2 separate regions of the Homo sapiens genome follow, and region 2 is linked to region 1. Evidence: promoter capture Hi-C in human tissues and cell types (Jung and others, 2019). All regions are on one chromosome and are shown on one strand. Each heading gives the region's core, a stretch centred on a gene start or on the middle of the fragment in contact. The rest is flanking DNA. Distances are from core to core; before and after follow the strand shown.

Region 1 (2,942 bases), core at 192-2,691:
GTTGTGCAGTGACGTGATCTCGGCTCATTTCAGTCTTAACCTCCTGGACACAAGTGATCCTCCAGCCTCAGCTCCCCTAAGTAGCTGGAACTATTGGCACGCATGCCACTACACCTGGCTAATTTTTGTATTTTTAGTAGAGATGGGGTTTCATCATGTTGCCCAGGCTGGTCTTGAACTCTTGCTGGTCTTGAACTCCTGGATTCAAGCAATCCACCCACCTTGGTTTCCTAAAGTGTTGGGATTATAGGTGTGAGCCACCACGCCCGGCCGATGCCAAGCTAATTTTTAAACATTTTTTGATAGAAATGAGGTCTCATTTTGTTGCCCTTGCTTGTCTCAAACTCCTGGCCTCAGTCCTCCTGCCTCAGCCTCCCGCAACGCTGGGATTATGGGTCTGAGCCACTGCACCTGGCCTCTCCGTATTTCTATGATTCTCAATATTCCCATGGACGGCTGTGACCCAGTCAGTCTGCACTCTCAGGAGGACATCTGCTCAGATAAAAGCCCAGTTCAGGGGCTCTGTCTTCAGGATCCCAAAGAAACTTGAGGCTTCTCCATGAGGGGAAAAAGTAGTGGGCTGAGGTGATTCTAGTTTATCCTTCTATAAAAATCTTTACCCACAGAATGGGACGCTGTGCAGTCATTAACTAGAACGATAAATACTTACATTCAGAAACAGAAAAGTGCCTGTAACGTTGTGCTGGCTTGTAAGAACAGAGAATAGAGTTCATGTAAAATGAGAGACACACACAAATACTTCTCTAGGCATCTGTGCATATGTATCTGCAAGAATGTTCACTGAAATGTCACCACCGGAATCACAGAATGTCTCCTTCATTCTCAGTACTTTTACAATTTATACTATCTGCTCAGAAGATCTCCTTTATATAAAGATAAACAAAAAGAAGAAAAGCCACACAAAAAATGTGTGAGAAACAAACTAAAAATCTCCAAACCCCAGTTCACCAAGAAAAAAAAAGTGACCCAAACTGTAAGCAAACTAACGGTCAGGGTTTTTAAACTCAGGCTCAGCTCTGAGAGGCATGTTGTTAGGGGCGCAGTCTCGTGCCTCTGTTAATTCCACAGCTCATTTAGCGGCAAACTTGCCCGCAGTATATCTCCATAGAAATGGAACCCACAGGCACTGGCAACTGGAGGATGTAATTATCGGAGGACATGGCAAACTCTGGAGGCTGAGAGAAGGAGTTCTCACACCAACAAGAAAGGTGAGCCTGGGGTCTTCAAAGGCAGCACGCCCAGGGCCTGCCACGTGGCCTCCTAGCGGGCACACTTCAGGGCTGGGTGAGAAATGCTTGGAAACCTGGGTGCTCCCTCCTGCGTAGCTTATAAAAGCCACCCTAGGTCCTGCTCCTTAAGGAGAGGTGACGGGGACGGGGAAGAAGCCAGGCAGGGAGGGCAAGGGTTCAGACCAGGCCAATGCTCGCCGCCTCCATCTTCCGTCCGACACTGCTGCTCTGCTGGCTGGCTGCTCCCTGGCCCACCCAGCCCGAGAGTCTCTTCCACAGCCGGGACCGCTCGGACCTGGAGCCGTCCCCACTGCGCCAGGCCAAGCCCATTGCCGACCTCCACGCTGCTCAGGTAGGAGGAAGCTGGAAGAACAGCAATACCCCCAGGCCCGTGCACGTGCACACAGGCACATGCGCACGCGCGCACAGGCACAGGCCAGGATGCCGGCTGTGCAGAGGCAGAGAAGGGCCAGGCAGGCTGGGCTGAGAGGGAGGAGTGGCTCCTGTGGCTCCTATTGGAACAACCATGAATCGATGCTTAACCTGATTCGACAATCCCACAGGTCAGCCCTAGTGAGAAAGAAATGTCAGTGCGCAGACAACAGACTCAAATGCCAAGTGCCTTTCCAAAGGCAAGCATGTGATACTGTAGTGGCCAAGGCACTGTCCGAAGGCATTCTGTGGCTGCTCACCATGCCAATCTCTGGATGTAGAGAAGGGGACAGCCCTGCAAGGTTCCCCAACACCGCAATAGTAAGGATCCTAACAGCTGTCTGGGGTGGCATCCGTGGACTTCACCGGAGTCTGTGGTGAAGCACCCAGGAGGTCCAATGCAGGCGATCCCCTCCTCCAGAGAGTCGTGGTGGCGGGCAGGGAGTGGACCCATGAGGCCCCTTCACCTGCTCTGGCACGTGGTCCTTTGGTCACCATAGGCCAGGAGCTGATGCTCAGGGTCAAGTCCAATCCCCAGCTCCCACAGTGCCCCAGAGGCCAGGGCAGGGAGCAGGAGAGCCGCCCTGTGGCCAGGCCCGCAGCCGCGTGGAGGCCGCTGACCTCCCTCCCGCTGTGCGGCCATGAGGAAGCCCCCCAGGTCCTCAGACCCAACCACTGCCAAGCCCCTCAGTTCCAATTCCCAGCTCTCAGGACGTGCCTCCCATGGCTTTCTCTGCGGTGTGGCCACGCCCGGACTTCCTTGGCACCCCCCACCTGCCCCGCACGACCTGCCCTGCGCGACCTGCCCCGCAAGGCCGGGGGGAGCGTCTTCCTCCCCCGCGACCTCTTACCTCCTCCCGGCACTCGCCCACCCCGCTGCCCAGGTCTCCTGCTCCTCCGGCCCTAGGGCGCCTCTGACTCAGCCTGGTGCCCATCCAGGGCCCGCACTCAGGAAGGCGCCCAGGACTCGCTCCTTCTCTCCTGTCTACCTCTCTCCTGTCTCTGTCTCTCACTGCCGCTCTCTCTGTATCTCTATCTCTCTCTGTCTTCCTGTTTCTATTGCTATCTCCATCTGTTTCTCCCTGTCTGTCTCTCTGCTTCTCTCTGTCTCTGTCTCTATCCCCATGTCTCTGTCTCTCTAGACTTTGGGGCAGGGCAGCCCGGGAGGGCCCCGAGCGAGGCGGCCCAGATTAGGGTGCCTTTCTCTCCCACAGCGGTTCCTGTCCAGATACGGCTGGTCAGGGGTGTGGGCGGCCTGGG
Region 2 (2,942 bases), core at 223-2,722, 700 kb after region 1:
ATTTGACAGGATCACTTAAATGCTCAGGTACAGTATCGAAACCATTTAGCATGGTTACCAGGAATGGAGGGTGAGCCGACTCTGTTTAAAATCTGCAGAAAACATTCAGAATCCAAAGGAAAGCTTGTAAGTAAGTACTTCTCCATGGAGTGCTTAATCGTGGAAGTGGTTTTCATCACAGGAGAGAGGATTGCAATTTCTAAATCAGTCTCCCTGCATCATGTGAGAAAATGCCTTGTAAATAAACTCTCCATTGGAATAGTCACTTGTCCTAAGCGTGGAACTGATTCTATTCAAATTAGCAACCATTATAGATATTTTGGTCTTCTATTGTCAATGACAATACATTTTCCTGTGGGAATAGGTTATTTAGTCCATATTGGGACATTACAGGAGAATTAATAATTAATGACATGCTAGTGCTCGGCCCACCCTTCTGTTTTTGTAGCCAAGGCTTGATTGGATTTTCTGTATGTATAATGGGCTGTTTCAAAATGGTCTTGCCTCATTGTTTCTTCATATCTTATTGAAACCAACCCACTGTTGATCTCAATCTGTGTAAGGAGAATGCGGAGTATGGCATTCGCAGGACTGAATCCCTAGATTTTAAGTTTGGAAGGAGATCCAACCGGGCAGATGAATTGACCGGTGGTGAATATTCTGTAGCATTTTCCTCCCTGGAGAGGAATGCCGCCACCGCTGGGAACCGTGGACTGGCATGTGAGCCAGTGGCTGTGAAAGGCGCTGTGCCCTGTGTCCTCCGTGTACTTTAGAGCAGGAGCGTCACACATGGTGGAGCCGGGTGATATCCCGGGCAGGCTCCCGAAAGCTCCTGGTGGCCCATCAGGGGCTGGTTTTTCCACCTTTTTTTTTTTTTTTTTTTTTTCCTCGAGACAAGGTCTCACTCTGTCACCCAGGCAGGAGTGCAGTGGCATGATCTTGACTCACTGCAACCTTTGCCTCCTGGGTTCAAGCAATTCTCGTTCCTTAGCCTCCCGAGTAGCTGGCATTACAGGCACTCGTCACCATGCCCGGCTCGTTTTTTTTTTTTTGTATTTTTAGTAGAGACAGGGTTTCACCATGTTGGCCAGGCTGGTCTTGAACTCCTGACCCCAAAATGATCTGCCCGCCTCAGCCTCCCAGAATGCTGGGATTACAAGCACGAGCCACCGTGCCAGGCCTGGTTATTCCAAATTTTTTGATTGGTCTAAAATTTGTAATGAATGGTAGGAAAACACAGCAGGAAAAAGAAAGAACATTATTATTGGTAAGGGTCAGATTAAGCCCTGGGTGAGAGTCATGAGTCCCTAGAGGTATCTGAAGAAGTCCTCCTGGCTTTGGCCATCTCTACAGGATCCGGTGATTGCTCCGCCTCCAGAGCTGTCCCCAACCATCGCAGCTTGGCTTGTCTGTGACCTCGTGTCAACTCAAAACAGCACTTTCCCCCCGACACTTTGAAGTCAACCCTGGTAGAATTTGTGAGGAAATGGCCAGTGTGTGTTGGGTTTAAAAAAAAAAAAAGGCTGTGGAAGTAGAACAATCTTGGGGTTGCCACAGAACAGGCAGTTTGAGGTGACGAAGTGGCTTTGTAATCAATAATAATTGATAAGACCTTGTTTCTAGCAGGCTGTAGACAAAAATAATCTTCTTGGACCTATCTTCGCCTAGGAAATATGTCCTAGAACCTCCCTCCTCTGTTGATCTCAACGCCCAAGCCCATCCTCCCATGAGAAAGGTTTTTTTTTTTTTTTTTTTTTGAGACGGAGTCTCGCTCTGTCGCCCAGGCTGGAGTGCAGAGGCGCGATCTCGGCTCACTACAAGCTCCGCCTGCCAGGTTCATGCCATTCTCCTGCCTCAGCCTCCAGAGTAACTGGGACTACAGGCGCCTGCCACCATGCCTGGCTAATTTTTTGTATTTTTAGTAGAGACGGGGTTTCACCGTGTTAGCCAGGATGGTGTCGATCTCCTGACCTCGTGATCTGCCCGTCTTGGCCTCCCAAAGTGCTGGGATTACAGGCGTGAGCCACCGCGCCCGGCCTGAGAAAGGTTCTTATGGGAATTGTGATGAAGGGGTCAGAGCAGCCCCCACCTCCCCCCATCAGCACCACCCAGGGCTGAATCTGAAGTCAGACTTGGCTGCTTAAGCCACAACCTAAGATAACTTTGAATACCAGGTGCTGAAATCACAGAACAGACTCCAAATGGTGGCCCCGTTTGGACTAAATGAGAGGTGAGCTGAGGTTGAACACGGGAGGCAGAGGGCCAGGGGTCCCGTGGGCATCAGCTGGGGTGGGCATCACCACGGTGCCCCCAGCTTTTTCATGGGTGATTTCTTCAGCTGACCTGGGTTTTCAGGGTTCTTTTAGGCAGGCTCCCAGTTGTTTGTGTCAGAGAGCCCTTTTTGTTGGTAATCCCAAGCCCAGAACTTTCCAGAATGTGCTGTTGGATGTGGCTTTATTCTTTGATCCCTTCAAAAAATGAACCACACCGATTACTATTGGCTGCCAGGCCTGGTGAGGGGGTGAGTGAGCCCTTTCTGCGAGCCCGGGGAGTTTGGAGCCAGATGGGGGTTCTTCCTTCCCCGTCTCCAGTCCTGTTGCTCTAAGAACACAGATAAGGGAGTCACTCCATCCCCAACAGGTGCCGCCTTATCCCTGCTGATGTCAGAAACCAACTCTGCAGAAACCAACTCTTCCCCAGCTCACACATGCTGGAAACGCTGAATGTGTCTTATACCCTGCATCTCATTACATGTGTCTTGAAAATGTGGCTTTTCTTTATGTATATAAACCTACATTCACAGCTCTGCACAATCAGTGGCTTGTTTTCCGCTTACAATAGCGACATTTTGGTGGTAGCGGTGCCTGACACGCATTTCATTTTTATTTAACTTATAAAACCTTGGGGTGAGTGCTTCTGGACACACAAAAGCTTTCATGGAG

What was found. Contacts are between HindIII fragments. The study calls those that stand out against the background at their distance.
Region 2: a fragment that was not itself captured here is called in contact with the fragment with the promoter of MMP21 in region 1 in 1 of the 25 tissues and cell types used here (IMR-90 fibroblasts).

Annotation. Positions count from the first base shown.
Region 1 is chr10:125,774,320-125,777,261 of GRCh38, reverse strand. MMP21 (matrix metallopeptidase 21) reads left to right here and starts at 1,441. Exons shown (of 7, transcript NM_147191.1): 1 at 1,441-1,602; 2 at 2,897-2,942. The coding sequence starts at 1,441. The HindIII fragment of the contact is 11,499 bases long and covers 1-2,942 here.
Region 2 is chr10:125,077,095-125,080,036 of GRCh38, reverse strand. The region is part of intron 2 of CTBP2 (C-terminal binding protein 2); the gene reads left to right. Among named protein-coding and RNA genes, the nearest start is that of MIR4296, 46 kb to the right of the region's middle. RefSeq lists an enhancer at 770-1,271. The HindIII fragment of the contact is 4,893 bases long and covers 1-2,942 here.